2 separate regions of the Homo sapiens genome follow, and region 2 is linked to region 1. The links are contacts of gene promoters, found by promoter capture Hi-C in human tissues and cell types (Jung and others, 2019). All regions are on one chromosome and are shown on one strand. Each heading gives the region's core, a stretch centred on a gene start or on the middle of the fragment in contact. The rest is flanking DNA. Distances are from core to core; before and after follow the strand shown.

What was found. Contacts are between HindIII fragments. The study calls those that stand out against the background at their distance.
Region 2: a fragment that was not itself captured here is called in contact with the fragment with the promoter of SMIM19 in region 1 in 1 of the 25 tissues and cell types used here (IMR-90 fibroblasts).

Annotation. Positions count from the first base shown.
Region 1 is chr8:42,538,068-42,543,665 of GRCh38, reverse strand. It overlaps SMIM19 (small integral membrane protein 19), which reads right to left and starts at 2,081. Exons shown (of 4, transcript NM_001135674.2): 1 at 1,293-2,081. It also overlaps a transcript of SLC20A2 not described here. RefSeq lists an enhancer at 206-500 and silencers at 1,661-2,080, 2,221-2,500. The HindIII fragment of the contact is 13,050 bases long and covers 1-5,598 here.
Region 2 is chr8:42,585,484-42,591,081 of GRCh38, reverse strand. No RefSeq gene overlaps it. Among named protein-coding and RNA genes, the nearest start is that of SMIM19, 47 kb to the right of the region's middle. The HindIII fragment of the contact is 4,227 bases long and covers 1-4,219 here.

The sequences.
Region 1 (5,598 bases), core at 832-3,331:
AAGATTCTGTTCATGTGCCACTCAGTAAATGGTATATTCCTACTCAAAAGCGCTACTTCCTCCTGCCCCAAATATGCAGGTCTTTAATTACACTTAGGAAAAAATTTCTAATTACTGCTGACATAGAACGGTAAAATTTTAACGTGAATTATACAACCTATATTATACAACATGATTGGTATGTCATGAAGTCACTCTTCTGCGCTTCCAGGCACATGCACTTGAGTTATTTTTAGGAGTGTAGTTGTGAAAGATTTGCAGAGGGGAGGCCTTTCCCGCCCAGTCCTCAATCATGATCAATGGCATGACTTTATAAGGCTGCCAGGAGTAAGGAGTGCTCTGGTCCTGAGTCACAGTACAGACCCACAGCCCACAGGCAGCCTGAACTATGACCCCGTCCCCTCCTCCCCGGCATGCCACAGTGTAACCAAGTGTACACACATACACCTGCTGCGTGCTTACTGCATACCACCACAGCCTTCCTCTGGAATCTAAAGCAAGACACCATTTTTCACATTTTCCTGTAATGTAATGCTTGAACTATTTCAGTAAGGAGAGGCTAGGATGGGCTGAATTAAGTCTCAAGTAAACAAGAGTATATAAACTTGCCAATATATTACAACTAGGGGTTGGTTTTAGATTGACAAACTTTTAGGATGAGAACTACTTTTTTTTTTTTTTTTACAAAAACAGGGTCTCACTCTGTCACCCAGGCTGGAGGGCAGTGGTGCGATCTCGGCTCACTGCAGCCTCGACGTCCCAGAATCGAGGGATTCTCCTGCCTCAGCCTCCCAAGTAGTTGGGAATACAGGCAAGTGCCACCATGCCTGGGTAATTCTTATTTTTTTTTTTTTAAAGACGGGGGTGGGGTGGGGGTCGTCTCACTATACTGCCCAGGCTGGTCTCAAAACTCCTGAGCTCAGGCAATCCGCCCGCCTCAGCCTCCCAAAGTGCTGGGATTACAGGCGTGAGCCACCGTGCCCAGCCGAGAACTACTTTTTCTAGGGACTAGGTCACTGTATCATAAGCTTTAAAATCTGTGTCGTGATTTTGGGTTCCTGATGTCACGTCTAGGTGATTCTAAAATTGACCACCGCTTGTCATCGTGCCTTGAATGTTATCATTTTTGTCTCTCACTTAGAACTTTGTTACTTTGATACAAATTCACATTGGAACCACTTAGTTCCTAGAGTCCCTTACAACAAAATCCTCTGCATCAAAAAATGGGATTTCTTTCTCTCATCCCTCTGAAACACTAAAGGCTTGGTATTCTGAAGCCAAAGGGTACATACAAGCTCACAGGCCTTCACCCAACATCCAGGAAAGCAATTCACAGGTGCTGGGCAGTCCACAGAGTCACTGAATTATCCCAACAACCCTGCTGGGCGGCACTAAAGCTCCATTTTACAGGAGAAGAAACTGGGGTGGCGGCGGTGGTTATATAACTTGTCCAAAGCCACACAGGCCTGGGCGTGGAGGCGCGGGGCTGTTATACACACGACTCCCAAACCTGAACTCTTCCAGTCTTGGCCCCGATCCTGCGAGACCTGCTCCTTCCGGAAGAAAGTCAAGTGGAGCAGGGAGAAAATGTAATCCTCTCCCAGGAAGCAGCCCGGGTCCCAGGGCGGCGAGGCTCTAGGGACGTTTCCGCCGCCCGCAGGCTGCGCGTGATTCAGCCTCAACCCTCCCGCCGAGCCCCCGCCGCCCCGGCAGATGGGCCGCCGCAACTGGCCCGTGTGCGCTTCCGGAAGCGGGCGACTCGCAGCTCCACGCGACGCCGAGGGGCTCCGCGCCGGGACCGGGCGGGTGCTCGGAGTTTCGGGGACCGCACGGGACCGAGGGCAGGCGGGCGGCCACCCCCCTTACCCCCGCGTCCGGGGCGGGGCGGGCGGCGCGGGGCGGGGCCGGGTGACGCGGCCCCGCCGGGGACCGGGAGAAGCGGGGACGCGGGGCCACTCACGCTGCCGGCTCCGGAGGCGGCACGCGGCCAGCGCTGCTCCGCTCCGGGGCTCTTTACCCCGGAGTCGGGGCCGGGCGCGCGGGAAACGGTTACCGAGCGGACCTGGACGCCCTCTGCCTTCGTCATTTCCTGCCGGCCGGTCGGTTTCCGGATGAAACGAGGAGCCAGGTCTTTTTTTTTTTTTTTTCCTTTCCCCTTTTCAGTTTTTTGAGCCGGAGAGACGCAGCGGCGGCCCCAGTGCCGCCCCCGGGCGCGTGAGTGGAGCCGGGCTCCTTTCCCCTACCGCGCCGCGACCCCCGCCCGGGCTGCGCGCGCCGCCTCCCGCGAGCCCCCGGCCCGACTCCCGGGCTCCCGCGGGTGGGGGCCAGGGCTGGTCGGCGCCGGCGGGGCTCGCGGCGGCGGCGGGTTGCGTCCCCCGCGCCTGCTGGCCCACGTGGACCTGGCCGTCGCTTGCCGTGCGGCGCCTTTGCGAAAACTCGACGGAAGTGGCAGGGACCGGGCATTACCTGCGAGTGCCGGGCGCCTCCTGCTCCGCTGTGCGCGCTTGGGGTGGGACTCGGCGGGGGAGGGGTCGTGTACATTGTCCCACCAGGCGCAATGTAGCCGGGCGGCGCAGAGGATTTCTTTTTTGGTCTTGAGAGCATAGAGTCCCTTTTCATATTCACGTGTACTCTTAAGAAAGCGTCTGTTCTCCAAACTGGCTTTCCATTCTCCCCGTCCTAAATGGTGCGTGGCTGACACCGTAGTGTTTTCAAAACTGGATATGGCCAGGATGCTATAGCATTGTCAGTGTAAGTCCCTTTTGGGTATTTTTATTTAATTGTGTAGTGACTTGACAGAAGTGTTTCCCAGCTTGACCTAAGTAATGAATTTGCATAGGATTTCAGCATCAGTATGGAAGTGATCAGATGTCAGTGGCTGGTGCCACCTTGCAGATAAATGGCCACTGGTCCACGTAGTTCGTCTTTACTATACATTTTGATTAAGTTCTCTAGGACCAGCTGACTGGTAATTATAAGTCACATGAAACCCTGCAGAGATGAGAGCTTACATTGAACACTTCTTAACAAGTTTTCTATTCTTTGTTTCATCTGTTACAATTAAACTCACCTTCGTCTAGGGTAAGACCATTACTTTACGCAATAACATACTAGCTTAATTTACGGTATTTATATGTATTTATATATATTGTATATACATAATCATACATATAATTCTATAACATTTAGTTTGACTCTAAAGTTGGAAAATCAGGAAAATAACAGGTGATGTTGAGTACTGATTGTTTGCCGGGCCTGTGCCAAATGGTGTGCATGCTTTATGTAACTTAATCTAAAAAAATTTGAATACGTGAGTTTGATTTCAGTGTGTCCAAATGTGAAACGTGTACATTATTGTTATTGTTTTGTTTTTTTTGAGACGGGGTTTTGCTCTCGTTCAGGCTGGAGTGCAATGGCACTGTCTTGGCTCACTGCAACCTCCGCCTCCCGGGTTCAAGCGATTCTCCTTCCTTAGCCTCCCAGGTAGCTGGGATTACAGGCGCCCGCCACCACGCCCAGCTAAGTTTTGTATTTTTAGTAGAGACGGAGTTTCACCATGTTGGCTAGGCTGGTCTCGAACTCCAGACCTCAGGTGTTCCGCCCGCCTCGGCCTCCCAAAGTGCTGGGATTACAGGCGTGAGCCACCGCGCCGGGCAAACGTGTGCATTAAATGCTTGTTTATGCCTTTGTAAAATAAGAGTGTTGGCAATATAAAATGTTACCCATAGAGTAAATTAATGTGTTTTTCAAGTTGGAAGATGGCTTTAAAAATTCATAGAAGTACAATTAGTCCCTTTATTTAGGTGCTGAATAGTTTCCAAAGCCCCGTGTCTCTTATTTATCAGAGTTTCTATTATATAACATTGTCACCCAGTGAACAGGCTATGCTAGGACATTGGAAAAAGGTAAATATTGAGAAAGCCCTAATGGTCCTTTCTTAAATGGCCCCCTCTTTCCATATTTAATTTCTAAGTGACATTCCTAATTAAGGGTAAACAAACATAATGAAACAAGGCTAATTTTCCAATACCAAACTAAAAAAATAAAAAACAGTGGACTGGCTATTACTTTGTTGATGAGTCTAGCACAGTTTTACTGGGCATTTAAATGTTAAGGATGTTATTTACATTGTAGCTAGTTGTGAAAGATTTGTGTGTCTAAGTTTTTAGTTTGCCTTTAAATGTCTTGAACATATGCTTAGTATTGAGTCCAGTACTTTGTGCATTAATAGTAAGTTTTTTGATTGGATTTAATTGAACAGTTTTGGCTTCCTTAATTTTATTTTGAAGATAGAATTTAATGATTTGTGTAGGCATAACAGTTACAATTAACAGTGATTCCGAGATGAGCGTAGGGTTTAACTTAACAGTTCACATTTTCTTGCGAGTTGAAAGGACTGGAGAGTTGGATGTGTGTCTTCTTTGTGATTAAAAAAGCATGCTGGAACTTAGCTATCAGAAGATTCTGGTGGTCCATCTTTGGGAAGAGGAAAAGATTAAGAATGCTTTGCTAGTCAGTATTTACAAGAGGGTTTCTTTACTTAAAGGCATTTTCTCTTTGGGGAGGGGAGGAGTTGAGAGTTGTCATTAATGGAAGGATCTTAGAATAAAAAAGATGTATACATGTTTTCCTTTGGAGTGAATTTGTGACTGGAGATGGGGTTTCACTGTGTTAGCCAGGATGGTCTCGATCTCCTGACCTCGTTATCTGCCCTCCTCAGCCTCCCAAAGTGCTGGGATTACAGGTGTGAGCCACCGTGTCTGGCCTATGTGCTTTTTAAAGATGGAACTGATTTAGAATGCAGTATATTACAGTACATGAAAAAATTTTGGAATTTCTGTATGTTTTTCACTGTTGGAAAGCCATAGTGAGTGTAATAACAGCATTGGCTCCTGTTCATAAGGCATTTAAATGATGTGTTTCCTATGACAGGAAGACAAGCGTTTCTCATTCCTTCAAAATTTGGCTCTCAGATGGAGTGCCCTTTAAGCTCCCTGAATGCAGGGACTTCTTCTGTTTCACTCATTGTCTTTTTTCTGGGGCCTAGAACAGAACCTGGCAAACTGAGAGTGCTATGTAAACCTTTGTAGAATGAGCACTTTCCCTGGGGAATCCTCTCTCCACTTTCCACTAGTGAAGATCCCACCTGCTTTTAGGTGCAGGGCCACTCCAGCCTGACTTTCTCTGCAATCTGCAGCCCACAATGATTCTTTGAACATTAACTGTGTATACCACACTCTGTGACAGTGAATCTTTTATAGCTTTATATTGATACATGAGTGTTTCATGTATTTTGTTTCCTCACCCAAAATATAAGCTCTTCAAGGCTACAGGATATCCTATTTTTGAGAATTGCCTTGGTATCCAGTATAATATATAATATTATATAATACCTATAATATATAATGTAATATATGTAATATATAATATATATAATATACATGTATATATACAGAGTAGGTTTATATTTACCTATTAAATGAATGTTACATACCGTGGGGAAACATCAAAGATACTCAAAATGGTAGGTTATATTTTAGTTAGGCAAACCTAGTGTACACATGTGAAACAGTACTAGAATTTGGAGCTAAATAAGAG
Region 2 (5,598 bases), core at 857-3,356, 47 kb before region 1:
AATGCAAAAAGAAGTAGCAAAACTGAACAGAACAATAAACTTGGAAAAGTTGAAATTGTCATTGGGGAAAAAAAAAAAAAACAAACCTGCCAATGAAGAAGGCACATACAGCAGGTAGCTGTATAGTTGAGTCCAACTTCCGAGTAGATAATGTTAATGTTACCTAGAATTATGCGGAACACAGAAAAATATGAATAATCTCCCATTCATTTCACCAAGCTAATATAACTTTAATATCAGAACTTCACAATATTGGATAATTACAGCACAGTGTAACTTGTTCATGCTTCAAGACAACCCCCTATTTTGATGTGCATGGTGAAGACATGGGTTAATCGCTGATTTAGTTCATACAGTGCAGGATGGAAAGGAGGTACAAATCAAGACTGACCAAGAAAAGGAATGTCTTTCCCTGGAAACCGTGGATTCCATGTCCACAGCTGAAAGGGATATGGGGTTCCCTCCTTTAGGATGAGGGATGAGTGCAGTTGTGGTTGTACATAGAAATTCAGTGTTTGTAAACTCTTTAATATATATTAATATTTAAAACAGAAATTTGCTGTCTTGCCCTTTGTAGAAATAGTCTGCTGGCCCCTGCTGTATATGCTCAACATTTCTTGTTTAATTGCTCTATCCAATATTTACAGGATTTTTTTTTTTTTTTCTGAGACAGAGTTTTGCTCTTGTTGCCCAGGCTGGAGTGCAATGGTGTGATCTCGGCTTACTGCAACCTCTGCCTCCCAGGTACAAGCAATTCTCCTGTCTCAGCCTCCCAAGTAGCTTAGATTACAGGCATGTGCCACCATGCCTGGCTATTTTTATTGCATTTAGTAGAGACGGGTTTCACCATGTTAGTCAGGCTGGTTGCGAACTCCTGACCTCAGGTGATCCACCCACCATGCCCTCCCAAAGTGCTGAGATTACCGGCGTGCACCACCATGCCTGGCCAGAGGTATTATTAAATACTCACACTCCTGTGAAGTTCTGGTCAGTTTTTGCTTTATACATTCAATACAAAGATTTATAATGAACATATCTTCTTGGTTTCATTAAATGGTTTCACATCAAATTCTATTTCATATAATAATGTAATTTTTACTGTATTTTTGTTTGTATTTGCCCAATATGTTTGCCCATCCTTTAACTTGAAACTTTTTGCTTTAAGCTGCTTCTTATAAGGAAATAAGATTGATCTTGTTTTTTACTCAATCTGAAAACCTGTGACTTATAAGGAGGAATATAATAGATTAAAGCCTATACATTTATTGCTGTAATTGGTTTATTTGGAGCTACTCCCATTACCCTGTTTCTTGCTTTCAGTCAAAGTTAGGAATGAAATGCTGTATCAGCTAGATGGTTTGCAAGTAATAACCTACCCTTTCTTTTTCTTTTTTGAGACTGGGTCTCCCTATGTTACCGAGGCTGGACTCAAACTCTTCAACTCAAGGAATCCTCCCATGTAGCTGAAAGTACAGGCATGCACTAATGGGCTTAGCTCAACCTACCCTTTCTTAAACAACAAGGAAAGCTATTATCTCATCAACATCTGTCATATTCTGAGCCATAAAACAAACTTTAACAAAGTTTTAAAAATTGAAATCACATAAAATGTGTTCTGTGACAATAACAAAAGTCAGTAATAGAAAGATACCTGAAAATCCTAAAATATTAAACAATGCATATAACCCATGGATCAAGAAGGAAGTCTAAGGAGTAATTAGAAAATATCTTGAGCTGAATGAAAATTAAAAAACATACCCAAATTTGTAGAATGCAGCAAAAGCAGGGCTTAGGGGAAATTTATAGTACTAAATCCTTTTATTAGAAAAGAAGAAAGGCCTCACATTAATAATCTAAGCTTCTGCCCTATGAAACTAAAAAAAGAGCAAATTAAACTCAAAACAAGCAGAGGAAAGACATAATAAAGAGCCAAAAGCAACAAAATTGGAAACAAAAACAATGAAAATCAATAAAAACCAAATCTACTTCTTGGATAAGATTTTTAAAACTTGAAAAACCCCTAGCCATACTGACAAAGAAACAAAGAGAGAAGTCATAAATTACCAAAATCACAAAATACAAAAAAAATTAGCAGGGCGTGGTGGCAGGCGCCTGTAGTCCCAGCTACTCCAGAAGCTGAGGCAGAAGAATGGCGTGAACCCGGGAGGCAGAGGTTGCAGTGAGCAGAGATTGCGCCACTGCACTCCAGCCTGGGCGACAGAGCGAGACTCCATCTCAAAAAAAAAAAAAGAAAAAGAAAATTACTTCTGTTTGATTTATTTTTATGTTTTCTTCAGGAATACTAGTTATTCATATGTTGGATTTCCTTTCTCTGTCCTCTGCATCCATGTTTTCTCTCTTTGTTTCTGTTTTTCTTTCTTTCTTTCTCTCTTTCTTGCTTTCTGTTTTTCTTTCTTTTTTTAAGAGACAGCAACTCACTGTGTCACCCAGGCTGGTGTGCAGTGGCGTGATCATAGCTCACTGCAGCCTTGAACTCCTGGGCTCAAGCAATCCTCCTGCCTCAGCTTCCTGAGTAGCTGAGACTATAGGTGCACACCACCATGCCCAGCCTCTGTTTCTTTATTTTCTCTAAATTCTGGGATACTTTCTCAAGTTTGTGTTATCAGCTACTGCTGTAAAAAACCATCTCAAAATGTAATGGCTTAAAACTATTTCTCACAAATCTTTTTTTTTTTTTTTTTTTTTTTGAGATAGGGTCTCTGCCCAGGCTGGAGTGCAGTGGCACAATCATGGCTCACTGCAGCCTTGACCTCCTGGGCTCAGGCAATCCTCCCACCTCAGCCTTCTGAGTAGCTAGGACTACAGGTGTGCCACCATGCACAGCTAATTTTTGTATGTTTTGTAGGTAGACTGGGTTTTGCCATGTTGCCCAGGCTGAATTTCTCACAAATCTATAGGTCAGCTAGGTGGTTCTGTAAACCTGGGCTGGACTCAGCTAATCTCGGCTTGGCTTGCTCTTGTGTCTGTGGTCAGCTGGAGGGCTGACTAGCAGGCTAGTCATAGCTAATGTTGAAATGACTCGGTTCTACTTGAAGTGGTAACTCATTCTCCTGAAGGCAAGCCTGCATATGATCTCATGTCAAAGACAGAGGAGCAGTAAAGCCTCTGTGCAGGTCAAGTATGCAAATGTCTCTTTGACAAGTCACATGGCTGAGACCAAAATCAAAGTGGATGGGACTTCAAAGTTACAGGGCAAAGGGCATGGATAGAGGAAGACTATTAATTAGTGCCATTAATGTGATCAGTCTACCACATTTTTCTTTTGTTTTTTTTTTGAGATGAAGTTTCATACTTGTCTCCAAGGCTGGAGTGCAGTGCTGTAATCTTGGCTCACTGCAACCTCTGTCTCCTGGGTTAGAGCGATTCTGCTGCCTTAGCCTCCTGAGTAGCTGGGATTACAGGTGCCTGCCACCATGCCTGGCTAATTTTTGTATTTTTAGTAGAGATGGGGTTTCACCATGTTGGCCCCACTGGTCTTGAACTCCTGACCTCAGGTGATCTGCCCGCCTCGGCCTCTCAAAGTGCTGGGATTACAGGAGTGAGCCACCGCGCCTGGCCTTCTTTGTTTTATTTATTGATATTCTGCAGAATCAACTCTGTAGACTATATATTTTGTTACTGTGTTTTCAGTTTCCACACTGAAGGAGAAGACAGTCAGAGGACTGACACAACCTGCCTTCAAGACATACTACAATGCTACTGTAAGCCAGACAGTGTGGTATTGGTGTCAGAATAGACAAATAAGTCAATGGAACACAATAGAAAGCTCAGAAATAGACCCACATAAATATAATCAACTGATATTTGATAAAGGCTCAAAGGCACTGGAATGGAGAAATACAGTCTTTTCAACGTTGGTGCTGGAACAACTGGGCATCCACATGGAAAAAAAAGATGAATCATACACAGCCTTTACACACTTCACAAAAATTAACTCAAAATGGATCATAGAACTAAATGTAAAATGCAAAACTATGAAACTCCTAGAAGATAACATAGGAGAAAACCTAGATAACTTTGGGTTTGCAGATGACTTTATATTTATTTATTTATTTTTGAGACAGAGTCTCATTTTGTTGCCCAGGCTGAAGTGCAGTGGCATGATCTCGACTCACTGTAACCTTGACCTCCTGGGTTCAAGCAATTCTCCTGCCTCAGCCTCCCGAGTAGCTGCGACTACAGGTGCGCGCCACCATGCCCAGCTAATTTTTTTCTTTTTTGTATTTTTAGTAGAGACAGGGTTTCACTATATTGGCCAGGCTGGTCTTGAATCCTCACTTCAAGTGATCCCCCTGCCTCAGCCTCCCAACATGCTGGGATTACAGCATGAGCCACCACGCCCGGCCTTGGAGATGACTTTAGATATAACACAGAAGGCATGATCTGTGAAAGAATTGGTAAGCTGGACTTCACTAAAATTAAAATTTTCTCTCTGTAGAAGACACTTTCAAGAGAGTGAAAAGACAAGCAGAGACTGGGAGAAAATATTTGCAAAAGACATATCTGGAATATGTCTTTTGCAAAAGACATAAAGGAATATTACATGAAACATGCAAAAAAAACCCCACAAAACTCTTCAAATACCACAATAAGGAAACAAACAGCCAAATTTAAAAATGGGCCAAGGACTTCAACAGATCTCTCACCAAAGAAGATATACAGAAAGCAAATAAGCAAATGCAAAGATGCTCTACATCATAGGTCATCATGGAAATGCAAATTAAAATAATGAAGTACCACTACACACCTATTAGAATGGCATTAATTCAGACTACTGACAATATCACATGCTGGTGAGAATGTGTAGTAACAGAAACTCATTCATTGCTGGTGGGAATGCAAAAAAAAAAAAAAAAATTCCAAGCCAAGGCAGGGCGCAGTGGCTCACGCCTGTAATCCCAACACTTTGAGAGGCTCAGGGGGCGGATCACCTGAGGTCAGGAGTTCGAAACCAGCCTGGCCAACATGCTGAAACCCCGTCTCTACTAAAAATACAAAAATTAGCCAGGCGTGGTGGCATGCACCTGTAATCCCAGCTACTCGGGAGGCTGAGGTAGAAGAATCACTTGAACCTGGGAGGCAGAGGTTGCAATGAGCCGAGATGACGGCATTGCACTCCAGCCTGGGTGATAGAGCAAGACTCTGTCACAAAAAAAGAAAGAAAGAGAGAGAGAGAGAGAGAGAGAGAGAGAAAGACGGGGGGGGGAAGAAAGAAAGAAAGAAAGAAAAAGAAAGAAAGAAAGAAAGAAAGAAAGAAAGAAAGAAAGAAAGAAAGAAAGAAAGAAAGAAAGAAAGAAAGAAAGAAAAGAAAAAGAGAAAAGAAAGAAAAGATGCCTTTTCTTTGCCTGGGGTTTAAACATCTGGCTACAAGACATTTTGTATAGGCAAGTTGAGGACTCTAGGGGTAGGATTGGTTTTAATATAATTTATAAATCTTTGGGCTGGGGCATGGTGGCTCTTGCCTGTAAGCCAACATTTTAGGAGGATAAGGAGGAAAGATCACTTGAGCCCAGGAATTTAAGACCAGCCTAGCCAACATAGGGAGGGAGACCCCATCTCTACAAAAAGTTTAAAAAT